2 separate regions of the Homo sapiens genome follow, and region 2 is linked to region 1. Evidence: promoter capture Hi-C in 16 types of primary human blood cells and fetal thymus (Javierre and others, 2016). All regions are on one chromosome and are shown on one strand. The core of a region is centred on a gene start or on the middle of the fragment in contact, and the rest is flanking DNA. Distances in the headings are between cores, read along the strand shown. Region 1 holds the start of PHLDB3 (pleckstrin homology like domain family B member 3). Region 2 has its middle 6.6 kb from the start of SMG9.

Region 1 (7,663 bases), core at 4,202-6,701:
TGTGGAGAAGGGAGTTGCTGAGGTCAGCCAGACTCCTGGGTCAGAGGGAGGAGGGGCTGGGGCCTGGATTCCTGGATCTAAGGAAGGAGGATCTGGGGGTCTGGACTTCTGGGTTTGAGGGAGGAGGAGCTGGGGGTCTGGACTCCTGGGACAGAGGGAGAAGGGGCTGCGACCGAGATTTCTGGATCTGGGTGAGAAGGGAGTATGAAGTAGCCAGTACCCTAGGAAGAAGAGCACATTTCTGTCTCAGGAGAGAGGGCCTGGGAGAAATATGTGATCTTTGAGGATAAATGAGGGCCTAGGACCCAGCCTCATAAAATTCCAACATACACGACACTTGCAAAGAAAAAAACTGACAAAATCACAAGTCACCATTTTCCAACCTATAATGGTAACTGACCCAAGCAATGACCACTGATGGATGTTACAATCTTCAGATAAAAGATTCTTTTTTTTGAGATGGAGTTCTGCTCCCGTTGCCCAGGCTGGAGTGCAGTGGTGTGATCTTGGCTCCTGGGAGCTGCAACCTCCACCTCCCGGATTCAAGCAATTCTCCTGCCTCAGCCTCCCGAATAGCTGGGATTACTGGTGCCTGCCACCACGCCCAGCTAATTTTTTGTATTTTTAGTAGAGATGGGGTTTCATCATGTTGGCCAGGCTGGCCTCGAACTGCGGTGGCTCATACCTGTAATCCCAGCACTTTGGGAGGCCAAGGCGGGCAGATCACCTGAGGTCAGGAGTTCGAGACCAGCCTGACCAGCATGGAGAAACCCCATCTCTACTGAAAATACAAAATTACCCGGGCATGGTGGTGCATGCCTGTAATCCCAGCTACTGGGGAGGCTAAGACAGGAGAATCGCTTGAACCTGGGAGGCAGAGGTTACGGTGAGCCAAGATCACGCCATTGCACTCCAGCCTGGGCAACAAGAGCGAAACTGTGTCTCGCAAAAAAAAAGAGACTAGGGTGATCTTATTAGGTCGGGACAACCAGAGATGAGGTTCCCAACACTGGCTCAGGAAGCACTAAAGCACTTCTGAATACGATCAAACCTCTCCCTCTAACCAACACCCACTTGCAGAAACAGAGGCATGTTCAAGGGCACCACAGGCATGCGATCAGCCATGCTCTGCCTATAGGACAGAAGACTGGATTTTTCCAATAAACAGTATGGGGAAGACACAGCGGGTAGGAACCACCAGAGATAAAACAATGGGCAAGACGTATCAGCCAATCACACTGAACTTTGGGGACTTCATTCAAACAAGCCACCTGTTAACTGGCATTTTGAGACTGTCTGGGAAACACAAAAACTAACCAGAAATAAGACAATACTAAGAACTTATTAATTTTTTATTTTTGAGACAGGGTCTTGCTCTATCGCCCAGGTTGGAGTGCAATGTTATAATCACAGCTCACTGCAGCCTCTACCTTCTGGGCTCAATTGATCCTCCCACCTCACTCTTCTGAGTCTGAGGCCACAGGCACATGCCACCATGCCTGGTTAATTTTTGTATTTTTATTTTTCACAGAAACGGTGTCTTATTATAATATTGCCAGGCTGGTCTCATAGTCTTGGCCTCAAGCGATCCTCCCACTTTGCCCCGCCCCCCGTACCCCCCCCCCACCCCGCAAGTACTGGGATTACAGGTGTGAGCCACTTGGCCCAGCCTAAAAGGATTTCTTATCTGTCAATGATACACTCTAAACATATGTACAGACCATATGATGTCTGGGATTGGCTTTTAAAACTGGGGACGAGAACAAATTGGAGATAATGAAACAAGAATGTAAGAATATTAATCATTGATGAAGCTGGTGGGCACAGGACATGGGAGCTGCCTGACTATTGTGGGGTGGGTTTGGAAGTTTTCTTTTTCTCTTTTTTTTTTTTTTTTTTTTTTGAGACGGAGTCTCCTTCTTGTCACGCAGGCTGCTGGAGTGCAATGGTGCGATCTTGGCTCACTGCAACCTCCATCTCCCGGATTCAAGCGATTCTCCTGCCTCAGCCTCCCAAGTAGCTGGGACTACAGGCGCCCGCCACCACGCCCTGCTAATTTTTGTATTTTTAAGCAGAGACGGGGTTTCGCCATGTTGCCCAGGCTGGTCTCAAACTCCTGAGCTCAGGCAATCCGCCCGCCTCGGCCTCCCAAAGTGCTATGATTACAGGCGTGAGCCACTGCTTCCGGCCAGTTTGGAAGTTTTTACACACCCACATTTAAATAGCAAACGGACAGGGGACAAAGGAAGAGCCCCAAAAATCTCGCCCAGGGAGGGAGAAGGAAAACCAGGAGGGGCATCTGCCCCTCACTCTCTCAGGAGCCCAAATGTCTTCCTTTGGGGAATGGGGACAACCCCGGGGCGCAGGTGGCTAGGAGCACACCAACATCCATGGACCAGGAAGGACACTGCTGATGAAGACCCGGTGAGCCAAACAGACCTGTTCCCGCTGCTGGCGGCCGCGCTGCTCCGAGGCCGCCTGCTGCTCCAGCAGCTCCCGCAGCTGCTCCTCCTCCCGGCGAGCGGCCACTCGCTCCCCAGCCAGCTCACCCCGCAGCAAGGCCACCTCCACCTCCATCTGCGGAGAGAATGCCAGGGCTGGGGGCTCGGACGCCTAGGTCCAAGGAAGAGGCCCAGGGCCTGAACTACCGGATTCGAAGGGAGGATGGACTCCAGGGACCTGAATTTGGAGGGAGGAAGAGCGGAGGGCCTAAAATCTGATCCCACCCGAGGAAAAAGCTGGGAGTCCGGCTTTGCGGGTTCCGCTTGAGTTGGGGCCAGGCTTCCCAAGGGGTCCGCAGCCTCACCTCGATCCTCAGCTCCTTCCTCTGGCGCTGTAGCTCCTTCACTCGCTGCTCCATCAGGGCCACACGAGTCAATGCCTCCAGCTGCTGTCCTTGCAGGCGCCGCGCCGCCCCTCGCACCCCTTCCCGCGAAGAGGTGGATGCGGGAGGTGTGGCCGCCATAGCTATCGGAGGCGTAGCCTCGGGCTGAAGTTGAGGGGGGCGTGGTTAAGTGGAGATGCCTCGCCCCCTGCAATCACTAAGTAGGTCTGGTCCCCACCCAACATCACCCTCTGCGGGTCTCAGTCCATCAGTCCACTTACCTAACACAACCACCACTCCCATAATCTGTCGCAGGCTCTTTTCTTTTTCTTTCTTATCTTTTTTTTTTTTTTGTCCTGAGATAGGGTCTCACTGGCTGGAGTGCAGTGGCGCGATTACGGCTCACTGCAGCATCGACCTCCCTCGCTCAAGCGATTCTTCTGCCTCATCCTCCTAGGTAGCTGTGACTACAGGCGCGCACCGCCACGCCAAGCTCTTTTTTTTTTTTTTTTTTTTTGGCAGAGAGGGGGCGATGCTATGTTGCCCAGGCTGGTCTCAAACTCCTAGGCTCAAGGGATTCTCCCACCTCGGCCTCCCAAAGTGCTACGATTACAGGCATAAGCCACCGCGCCCGGCCTCAGACCCCTGTATTTAAGGTCGGAGTGGGGGAGGGTGCAAGTCCCGTGACCACCCAACCACACGGACCACAGAGGCTTGCAGTACCGTATGGAGGGTGAGCAGGTGTAAAGCCGACTTATGAAAGGTGTTTCTTTTTCTCTATCAGGTCCTATTCTCTTGGCGTCACTTTCTTGTAGTGCCTGGATCTGTCTCTGTCTCTCCACCTGACCCCAGTCTCTCAGATTCGGTATCTGTCCACTAGATCTGTCCACTAGAATCACTAGATCTTTCTTCCTCGGAGTATGTCCCTCTCTCGAGGTTTTTGTCTATTTGTTTCTCTGAGCATCTCTGCCATTTATTTCTGGGTTTCCCTCTGTCTCGATTCCCCTCTCTCTGACTCTAGTCTCACTGTGTCTCTGTCTTTTTGGGGTCTTTGTCTCTCAGTCTCCATGTCTCTGGGTCTCTGTCTGGCTTCTTGATCTCTCTGCATCTCTTACTCGTTTGGTTCTCTCTGTTCTGTAGTCTCTCCTGTCTGTCTATCTGGTCTCTCTCTCTCTCTCTCTCTCTCTCTCTCTCTCTCATTTTTAGAGATAGGTTCTGCTTTGTCCCAGGCTGGGGTGCAGTGGCGCAGTCATAGTTCACCGCAGCCTACAACTCCTGGGCTCAAGCGATCCTCCTGCCTCAGCCTCCCGAGTAGCTGGGATTACAGGCACGCGGCACTGCGCTTGGACAATTTTTGTATTTTTTTTTTCTCTAGAGACAGGGATTTGCTATGTTGCCCAGACTTGTCTCGAACTCCTGGGCTTAAGCAATCCTCCCCTCGGCCTCCCCAAGTGCTGGGATTACAGGCGTGAGCCACCTATCTGGTTCCTCTATACTAGTCTCTCTGTCTCTGTCGCCCGTTTGGGTCTATCTCCGTTCTTGGGGCCTCCCCGTGGCTCTATCTGGTTTCTGTCTCTGTATCTGGTTTCTGTCTGTCTGTGCCTCTGCCTCTCTGGCTCCGTGTCCTGGTGTATCTCTCTCTCAGTAGTCTCTGCTATCACTCGGTCTCTCTCCCTGTCTCCGGGTCTCTGTCTTTCTGGTTTCCCTCTACCTGTCTACCTGTCTGGCCACCTGTTTGGGTCCCCGTCGGTCCAAGCCCCCCGCGCTGTCGCCCTCGGGCCCCTCACCGCGTCGCGGCTGCTCTCAGTGCTGCTGCCTTCTCCCACTTCTTCTTCCTCTGCCTGCTGCTCAGCTCCCCCGCGGCTCGAAGGTTCCGCCAGGACTTCGGATGCCTCCTGTTCCCGGGACTCCTCGGGATGGCCCTGGGGCTGGACCTCCACGTCGCATTCCGGGACCAGCGGCGGCGGGGTCCCCTCCTCGGGGCTGCTTCGCGTCCCCATGGCCGCTGGGACTCCTGCGGGGTGGGCGGGACCAGAAGCTCCGGGGGCGGGGCCTAGGACGGCTGAGCGCCGCTCGCGTCTGCTCCGGGGCGCGGAGACCCCCCCCCAAGGAGGCGGGGCCTAAGAGTTCAAAGGATGGAACTGAGCGTTACGGAGGCGTGTCCTGAAGTTTCCAGAGGCGGGGCTTGATGGCTCCAAGGCGACACGCCACCGGAGACGGGACCGGAATTTGAGTCCGGGTCGTAGCACGCCCCCTACTGACCTCTTCGACCCCGCCTCCCCTCCCTCATCTCTAGGTGTCAGGCCTTGTACCCTCCCAGCAGCCCCCTACAATCTCTTGGATTCGCTTAGAGCGACCCATCTTCTCCCTCCGAGACTCAGCAGTTCGGCTCCCGCCCCATCCTTCCCGGAGCCCCGTAGTCTTAGTCCCGACCCCACTGTGCAGGGCAACCGTGCCCACGCCGCCTCACCCAGGGATCCAGGAGTCGGGGCTCTCCTTCTCTGAACAAGCCAGGAGTCGGAGTCCTTGAGATTCCGAAGTCCAACTGCCACCTCCCCACAGCCTCGGCCCCCTCACGAGCTCAGGCTTCGGCGCGCTCCGCTCTGCGCGCTGGGCACGGCCGCTTCTGCCTATGAGACAGGTGGCAGGGGAAGAGGGAGGAGAGAGGCCGCCCGGTCCCCCTCCCCAGCAGCCCGGAAGTGGAGGGGGGACAACAGGTCCAACAGCTCCCGAGGGAGGAGGGAGCCACGGGCTTGCCCCACCCGTGGCCTCGGCATCCGGCCATCCCGGCCCCACCGGCCCCGGCCCGGCCCCACCCTCGTGGAACTCAGCATCGCGACCTCCCAGTCTCCCTCGAGCCCCTCATTCCTGCCCCCCTGGAGGAGTCTTGGCCACCTCTGTATGGGAGCCTCTCTAATGTCCAGACCTTGGGAGTTCAGAAAGGAAGGCAGGAATGGAGATGGGGACGTCTCCCCTCTAATGAGCCCTTCAGAAGGGCCCTGACCGGTTTGGGGAGCTGGACAAGGGGAAGGGGTGCCCTGAACTGAGTCAGACACCTGCCCAGAGACTGAGGGAAGTGTACCGCCACCCCCCCACAACTTTGCTATGGGGTGGAGGGCAGAGGTTAAAGGTCTCAGCCAGACCCTTTCCTCTCTGGGCGAAAACAGGAAAATGAAAACAGGAAAATAACTGGTATATGAAAAGGGATGATTAGAAGTCAAGAGCTGTGTGAAACACTTTATACCCAGTCATTTAATTTCACCCTCAAAGCTGTCCAGCGAGAAAGTGATTACTACCTCCATTTCTTTTTTTTTAGTAGAGACTGGGTTTCTCCAGGTTGCCCAGGCTGATCTTGAACTCCTGGGCTCAAACAACCTGCCTGCCTCAGCCTCCCAAAGTGTTGAGATTACAGGCGTGAGCCACCGCTCCTGGCCTACTATCTCCATTTTACACTTGGGGATACAAGCTGAGGAGGACAAATGCACCCAAGGTTGGCTGGGCACAGAGGCTCAGGCCTGTAATCCCAGCACTTTGGGAAGCCGAGGCAGGTGGATTGCTTGAGATCAGGAGTTCAAGGCCAGCCTGGGCAACATGGAGAAACCCCATCTCTACTAAAAATACAAAAATTATGCCAGGCGTGGTGGCACACACCTGTCATCTCAGCTACTCCAGAGGCTGAGGCAGGAGGATATCTCGAGCCCAGGAGGTCGAGGCTGCAGTGAGTCTTGAATGTGCCACTGCACTCCAGCCTGGGCGACAGAGTAAGACCCCATCTCAGAAAAAAAAAAAAAAATGTAGCCAACATCTACACATGTTGTAAGTGGTAAAATGCAGGCTTCATTCTCTCAAAAGTCCATGTTCTTAACCATTGCGTATACTGTCACTACAAGCCAGGAAGTACCCAAAAGATCATTCTAAATGATAGTAACTTTAATGGTGAACACTGATAGGCCATGTGCCAGGCACTCACACACATTGACTCATCAGAGCATCACAACACCCCATTATTATTCCTTCCATTTTAGAGATAAGAAAACTGAGGCCTAGAGAAGTGAAGTAACTTACCCCAGGGCTAAGTGGGAAGTGGCTCAAAAGCAAGCCGGTGTTCTAATCCAAGGTGATGAGAAGACCTGCCCCAGATAGCTGTGTTTGTTTTTGATCTTGTGAGTTAGAAATCTTGTGGGCTCCCGGGCTGGGCGCGGTGGCTCACACCTGTAATCCCAGCACTTTGGGAGGCCGAGGCTGGTGGATCACGAGGTCAGGAGATCAAGATCATATTGGCTAACATGGTCAAACCCTGTCTCTACTAAAAATATGAAAAAATTAGCCGGGCATGGTGGCACGCGCCTGTAGTCCCAGCTACTTGGGAAGCTGATGCAGGAGAATCGCTTGAACCCGGGAGGCAGAGGTTGCAGTGAGCCGAGATCGTGCCACTGCACTCCAGCCTGGGCAATGGAGGGAGACTCCATCTCAAAAAAAAAAAGAAAAGAAAAAGAAAACAAATCTTGCAGGCTCCCTGGCCTCTCCATAGGACCAGAACCCCACCCCTTTCGGCCCAGAAACCCAATTGGTTCCCCCAGAAAATAGGTAGAAGTCAGACTCACGTTAAAAAAAGTTTTATTTAGGGAGCTCCAGGGAATGCGGTGGGAAAGGAGAGGTGCAGTGTCATTGCCGCCCTCTCCTCCCACCTAGTGCATTAATAGTGGATGGGAGCATCTGACAGAAGTGAGATCAGGCAGTGGGTGTCTGCACCCCACAGCGCATGTTGGCTGGAACAGCAAAGTCTGAAAGGAAGAAATCAAGGTTAAAACTAAGGGGCCTAGGTAGAGTTCCAGGCCC
Region 2 (7,663 bases), core at 2,655-5,154, 260 kb after region 1:
AGGAGTAGCTGGGACCACAGGCATGTGCTACCACACCCAGCTAATTTTCTATTTTTTGTAGAGACGGGGTTTCACTATGTTGCCCAGGCTGTCTCAAACTCCTGGCTCAAGCAGTCCTCCTGCCTCAGCCTCCCAAAGTGCTGAGATTATGCTACAGTTAATATCCTGGTACACGTGGCTGCATGTATATGTTAGTATTGTCAGTAGACTATCTCATTTGAAGTGCAAGTAGAATTGCTGGGTCAAAGGGTATGCACATTGGGAATTTTGAGAGCCATTGCCAAATGATCTGTTCATGTCTTTATTTTTTGTTTTTGAGACAGGGTCTCCCTCTGTCACCCAGGCTGGAGTACAGTGGCATGATCATAGCTCACTGCAGCCTCAGCTTCCCAGGTTCAAGCAATTCTCCTGTCTCAGCCTCCCGAGTAGCTGAGACTACAGGCATGTGCCACCACACCCGGCTAATTTTTGTATTTCTTGTAGAGACAGAGTTTCACCATGTTGCCGAGGCTGGCCTCAATCAATCCTTCCACCTCAGCTTCCCAAAGTGCTGGGACTACAGGTGTGAGCCACTGCGCCTGGCCCTGTTCATCTCTTTTTCACTTTTTGTTCATTTCTTTCATTTATATGTTGAATGAATTATGGAACTCTAGTCATCTGCCAGGCACAGCTGTAGGCTGGAGATCCTGTAATGAATAGGAAAAGCACCTGCCCTTTGGGAGCAGATATTCTAGTGGGGCAGATGACATCAGATAAAGGATGCTTGGAAGAAAAGAAAATCGGGGGTGAGGATTGGGAAGACATTGCAAAGGATACAAAATTTCATTTAGACAGGAGGAATAAATTCAAGAGATCCAGTCCACAACATGGTAACTATAGTTAGTAACAATGTATACTTGAAAATTGCTAAGAGGATAAATTTTCAGTGTCCTCACCACAAAAATGATAAATATGTGAAATAATGCATATGTTAATTAGCTTGATTTAGCCATTGTACAATGTATAAATATACAAAACATGTTGTACACCATAAATATATACAATTTTTATTTTTCAATTAAAAATAAAGTCAGGTGCCGGGCGCAGTGGCTCACGCCTGTAATCCCAGCACTTTGGGAGGCCGAGGCGGGCAGATCATAAGGTCAGGAGATCGAGACCATCCTGGCTAACATGGTGAAACCCCGTCTCTACTAAAAATACAAAAAATTAGCCAAGCGTGGTGGCGGGCGCCTGTAGTCCCAGCTACTCCGGAGGCTGAGGCAGGAGAATGACATGAACCTGGGAGGCGGAGCTTGCAGTGAGCCAAGATCGCACCACTGCACTCCAGCCTGGGCAACAGAGCGAGACTCTGTCTCAAAAAAAAAAAAAAAAGTCAGGTTACAGGAATTGACAGTGATAGAGGTCACAGAGAGTGACAGGTGGCCAGGGAAGGCCGCTTTGAGGGGATGACATTTGATCAGAGGCCTGAATGCAGTTAAGGAAGGTCAGGAAATGAGCCATCTAAAGATGCTGAAGAACGGCCAGTAAAAGACCCCAAAGTGGGAGTGGGCCTGGCTGTCCAAGGATGGTCAAGGTGGCCAGAGTGGCTGAAACAGAGCAAGGGAGGGAAAGAAGGGCAGGATTATTTAGAGACGGAGCTGTAGACAGGGCCAGTTTACATAAAGTCTTACAGGCCATGGTAAGCATTTGGAATTTACTTCCAAATGTAACAAAGCCATTGCAGGGCTACAAACAAGCACCGGCTTGTTCCAATTAATGTTTACAAAGACTTCTCCAGTGAACAACAAAAATTAACAGTGATTGCCTATAGGGATGAGGGTTATAGACAGATGTGGGTCAGGGCTATGGGAACTTAAAAAGCGTTGTTGTTTTTTTAAACCACGTAATTATTAGCTATGCGCAAAAATGTTCAGTGAAAACAGTGCTGGTTGCTGTGAGGAGAATGGCCTGCAGGGGCGGAAGCAGGAGATGAGAAAGCTGGTGTCCTTGCCTGGGCAAGAAAGGATAGTGGTTCTGGAAGAGGGTGGTGCTAATAGATGAGTTGAGAAGGGTCAGGAACTGGGATCTTTTTTGAAGGTAGCGCCAAGAAATTAAACATGGGGTGTGAGAGGAAGCATGAATCAGGGGTGACTTGAAAGTCATCCTAGAGATCTGTTGTACAACAGGGTGACTCTCATTCATAACAATGTGTTATATGCTTGAAACTTACTAAAATAATAGATTTTAAGTTTTCTCACACCACAAAAAAATAAGTATGTGAAATAATGCATATGTTAATTAGCTTGATTTAGCCATTCCACAATGTGTACATATATTAAAACATCATGTTATTTGCAGCATTAAAAAAAGTTCTAGCGGGGAGGGGGGAGGGATAGCATTAGGAGATATACCTAATGCTAAATGACGAGTTAATGGGTGCAGCACACCAGCATGGCACATGTATACATATGTAACAAACCTGCACATTGTGCACATGTACCCTAAAACTTAAAGTATAATAATAATTAAAAAAAAAAAGTTCGAGAGGTTTTGGTCCTGGCCAACTGCCTGAAGACTGAGACTTTTTTTTTTTTTTTTTTTTTTTTTTTTTTGAGATGGAGTCTTGCTCTGTCGCCCAGGCTGGAGTACAGTGGCGTGATCTCGGCTCACTGCAAGCTCCGCTTCCTGGGTTCATGCCATTCTCCTGCCTCAGCCTCCCGAGTAGCTGGGACTACAGGTGCCCACCACCACGCCCGGCTAATTTTTTTGTATTTTTAGTAGAGTCGGGGTTTCACCATGTTAGCCAGGATGGTCTCGATCTCCTGACCTCGTGATCCACCCGCCTCAGCCTCCCAAAGTGCTGAGATTACAGGCGTGAGCCACCACGCCCGGCCTAAGACTGAGGCTTTTTACCGGGATGAGGAAAAGTACTTTTGATGGGAAATCAACAAGCTTTGAAATTCTTAACTTTGAGATGCACGTTGGTCATCAAATAAGTGGTTGGAGTTAGGGGAAAAAGCCGGGGTTTGTAGATAAAGACTTTCTGACTTTGCGTCACAGAATTTAGTTTAATTAATTAATTTATTTTGAGACAAAGTCTTGCACTGTCACCCAGGCTGGAATGCAATGGCACGATCTTGGCTCCCTGCAACCTCCACCTCCCGAGCTCAAGCAATCCTCCTGCCTCAGCCTCCCAAGTAGCTGGGACCACATATGCTCTAGCACACCCGGCTAATTTTTTAGAGATGAGGGTTCACTATGCTGCCTAGGCTGGTCTCGAACCCCTGGGTTCAAGCAATCCACCCCATCAGCCTCCCAAAGGCTGGGATTACAGTCACTACAGAGTTTTAAAAATACACACAAAGATGTTATGGTATGAAGAGACTCCCACGTACCCATCGCCCAATATTGACAGACATCTGCATTTTTCTTGTCTTATGTCTTCTATTTTTCCCTCCCACATATAAGCATACTTCCCGCCACCCCCTGGAGTTTTGTTTGTTTTAAGAAAATCACAGATAACCTGTCATTTTGTTAATAACTATACAAGTATGCTAAATTTTGGAGCTGCCTATTTATAGATGATATTTAAAGCTATGATTTGCTGAGATCATCTAGGCTGAGAGGTTGAAGAGAGCAGGGACTAGGCCTGAGCATCCCGCATGTAGAAGCCAGGATCCTGGAGAGGGGCTGAGATGGAGCCAGGAGTGTCAGGAGAGGGGATGACCTGGCGCCATGGGATCAAAGGGTTCCAAAGAGAAGATAATGGACTAAGGAGCAGAGACACGGGGCAGCAGCTGGAGGCAGATGTGGGGTCCACCATGGAAAAGACATGACTTTTGATCCCCCATCTAACTGTGTTATGGAACCTTCTCAGTATCTATCAGGAAAAATGTATAAGTACTTATTTTTCTTTATTTTTATTTATTTTCTTTTTGGGTGACATATAACTTAAGTGTGGTAAAGTATATAAAGGGCACAGATCTTAAGTGTACCAGGTAATGAATTTTCACAAATTTATGCATCCATGTAACCGCTAATCAGAGAACATTTCCAGCACCCAGACGTCTTCCTTGTGCTCTTTCCCTGTCAATTCCCCTGCTCCAGAAGCAACCACCCATCTAATGCCTTTCAAAAACAGGCACAGAGATTCGTTGTGTCTGTTTTTGAACTTCATGCGAATGAAATCTTACAGCATGTCTTCCGTGTGTCTGGCATCTTTAGCTCTTTATGTCTGGCAAAGTCTTTTATGTCATTCTATGTAGCAGGAGTTTAGAACCAACTTTATGGCCGGGCTTGGTGGCTCACATCTGTAATCCCAGCACTTTGGGAGGCGGAGGCAGAGGCAGGCAGAACACGTGAGGCTAGGAGTTCGAGACCAGCCTGGCCAACATAATGAAACCCCATCTCTACTAAAAATACAAAAAATTAGCTGGGCGTGGTGGAGGTGCATACCTGTAATCCCAGCTACACTCGGGAGGCCGAGGCACGAGAATTGCTTGAAGCTGAGAGGCAGAGGTTGCAGTGAGCCGAGATCACGCCACTGCACTCCAGCCTAGGTGACAGAGCGACAGATATTTTGCAGTTTGGTGAATAGTGAACTTTAAGGAAAATGGAGAATCTAAAATGCTTCTGAAAGTTCCAGTGGGATGTTTATAAGATGGGAGAAATTATAGCATGTTTGTGTGCAGATGGGAATGATAGAGGGAAAAGAGACCAGGAGACTTTGGAGCTGTTTTTTGAGGAGGTGTGGACAGGGTGAGGGGGCTAGACTTGACTTGAAGAAGGGCCAGCTCATCCTGGAAAAAGAAAGGAAAGTTTTATCATTTGACACCCCCTCCAAATTATAAAAAGCACTCTCCTGGTTTGTATATGTTAGCAGCTATTCCACACAACATAAAAGCTTAAAGCATGCCTTTGGACTGCCAGTCTGGTGTTGATGATGATGATACAGCTTCCTTTATGGACCATAATAAATAGCTGGGCTGGGCATGGTGGCTCCTGCCTGTAATCCCAGCACTTTGGGAGGCCAAGGTGGGAGGATCTCTTGAGCCCAGGAGTTTGAGACCAGCCTGGGCAACATAGTGAGACCCCCGTCTCTACAACAAAGAACTGAATAAATGTTAGTGATGTTTATTTTTATTCTGAGTGGATGGGGCAAGAAGGAGGGGAGAGCAGCAGGCAGTTTGGGAAGGAAGAGGAGCCTAGTGGCCTGAGCAGCCAGGACAGGGAGGAGAAGGGGAGGCCAGAAGACGGGGAGAGACTGAGCTTGCAGAGTCCCCCGGGTGAGGCTTGTGGGCATACTGACACAATGGAATACTACTGTGTAATGAAAAGGATGAGCAGCATGGCTGAATCTCACCACCACCCTGCAGAGCCCAAGACACAGATACACACCAGGGCGTGCAGCAGGGTTCCTTCCAAAGTTCAAAGTTGAACAAAAGGAATCAAGACAGGTCAGGATGGTGGTTCCTGGGATGAAGGGGGCTGTTGGCTGGGAGGGAAATGAGAGCTTTAGGGGGCTAGACACTTCTAGCTTGATCTGAGTGATGGCTACTCAGGTGAATGTATTTGAAGAAATATATTGAGATTACATTTAAAATTTGTGTACTTTATTGTATGTTAAAATATATGTCAGTTAAAGAAAAAAAGGGGGCAGGCATGGTGGCACACAGCTGTAGTCCCAGCTGCTTGGGAGGCTGAGGCAGGAGGATCACTTGAGTGCAGGAATTCGAGGCTGCAGTGAGCTACGATTGTACCACTGTACTCCAGCCTGGGTGACAGAGCAAGACTCTGTCTCTAAAAAAAAAAGAGCTGGACTCAGAGCTAGACTTTGACAGGAGGGCAGTGGGAGGAATGGGAAGTGTGTGGGTGTTAGAAAGGTCCTCAAGGGCAGTTGGGGGATTTATGAAGGGGAAAGGCCCGTGACTGGCTGTATGACCCTGGGAAGCCCCTGCCCTCTCTGGACCGCCTTTCCCCCACCCAGTCCTCATGAGAGTGCAGGCAGAACAGAAATAGGAGAAGGAAGGAGCCAAAATCACCATGAGACTCAGCTCCTGGAGGACAGAGCCCTCTGATTCATGTCTGCAGCCCAGCTCCTGGCTCAGGGCCTTCAGGAAGTGTTGATTTGGTGAGGGGGGTGCAAAACCTGCCAGAAGTGGGGGCATCCAGGCTTGAGCCCCACAGTGGAGAATGAGGGCAGGCGGGCCAGGGCAGATCCAAGATAATTCAGAACACAGGATCTCTTGTATGTTCTCCTAGGTTCTTAGTCAAAAGCCCCTTTTCACTGGTTCTGACCTTGCCTCAGCTGAAATCAACATGGGATGGCTCAGCTGAAACCAACATGGGGTGGCTTCAGGCCATCCCAGGCATTCAGAGGGTTCGTTTAATGACATTCACTGAGGCCCTGTCTATGTCAGGCCCTTGGTGTTGAAGACGCAATCATGAACAAAAATGAAAATACAATGTGATGGTCTCCTGAGTGTCTGAATGCGCCAGGTGGCTAAGTGCTGGGGCTCTGGGGTCAGGCTGCCTGGGTCACATCCTGGCTCCAAACTGCTTTGCTATGGCTTCGGGCAGTTACCTCATCTGTAAAATGGGACCAACATTGCCTACCTTGCCTCCTTTTGTGAGGTCACTTATTAAAAGGGCTTAGCGTGGTGCTTGACCCATTATTATTATTATTATTATTATTATTATTATTATTATTATTATTATTATTACTACTACTACTACTACTTGAGACAGGGTCTCACTTTGTCACCCAGGCTGGAGTGCAGTGGCACGACCACAGCTCACTGCAGCCTCGACTTCCCAGCCTCTTCAAGTGTTCCTCCCACCTTACCCTCCCAAGTAGCTGGGACCACAGGTGTGTGCCCCCACACCTGGCTAATTTGTTGTCGTTGTCGTTGTTGTTGTTGTTTGAGATGGAGTCTTGCTCTGTCACCCAGGCTGGAGTGCAGTGGCACGATCTCGGCTCACGGCAAACTCCGCCTCCTGGGTTCAAGTGATCTCCTGCCTCAGACTCCCGAGTAGCTGGGATTACAGGCACACACCACCACGCCTGGCTAATTTTTGTATTTTCAGTATAGACAGGGTTTCACCATTTTGGCCAGGCTGGTCTCGAACTCCTGGCCTCAGGTGATCTGCCTGCCTCGGCCTCCCAAAGTGCTGGAATTACAGGCGTGAGCCACCATGCCTGGCCAGACCCAATATTATTATCGTGATAGGGATAGGTTTATGAGGCTATAGGAGTATCAGACAGGGCCTCCTGGAGGAGGGGACATATTAGCCGAGGCCTACAGGAGGCGTAGGAAGGAGTGTTTGCCAGCTAAAAGGGAGTGGAGGCAAGGAAAGAGAGGTCCCAGAAGAATGAGTTTGGCAGGGGCTTTGGCAACACTGCCAGGAGAGCTTCTTGCAGGGGAAGGGTGTCAGCAATATCTGGAGGTCTCATCCAGTTCCTTTCTTGAGTCCCCGCCTTTACTCCCCAGGTGGGCTGGCCTCCAGAGGAAGGGCAGTTCGTGGCAGTGGGTGGCGGAGGCTCCAATTTAGCTCTCAGGGATGAAGGGGCGAGGCTGGCTGTGGACTTTAAGGGAAATCCAAAGATAGCTCAACAGAAAAGGATGACTCGCAGCCTGATCTTCCCCTCAAGAGGAGGGAAGCAAGAATGAATCAGCCTCTCAAG

Evidence for each region. Contacts are between HindIII fragments. The CHiCAGO score rates a contact against its expected background, and 5 or more counts as called.
Region 2: a contact is called between a fragment that was not itself captured here and the fragment with the promoter of PHLDB3 in region 1, in 1 of 17 cell types (naive B cells). The highest score is 5.2, in naive B cells.

The regions. Positions count from the first base shown.
Region 1 is chr19:43,499,295-43,506,957 of GRCh38, forward strand. PHLDB3 (pleckstrin homology like domain family B member 3) reads right to left here and starts at 5,452. Exons shown (of 16, transcript NM_198850.4): 1 at 5,295-5,452; 2 at 4,612-4,838; 3 at 2,807-2,989; 4 at 2,440-2,577. The coding sequence starts at 4,824. It overlaps ETHE1 (ETHE1 persulfide dioxygenase), which reads right to left. Exons shown (of 7, transcript NM_014297.5): 7 at 7,425-7,608. The coding sequence ends at 7,556. RefSeq lists enhancers at 1-97, 4,588-5,110 and silencers at 4,739-4,988, 5,589-5,648. The HindIII fragment of the contact is 22,316 bases long and covers 1-7,663 here.
Region 2 is chr19:43,757,702-43,765,364 of GRCh38, forward strand. No RefSeq gene overlaps it. Among named protein-coding and RNA genes, the nearest start is that of SMG9, 6.6 kb to the left of the region's middle. RefSeq lists a silencer at 6,766-6,991 and enhancers at 7,339-7,398, 7,419-7,648. The HindIII fragment of the contact is 1,951 bases long and covers 2,930-4,880 here.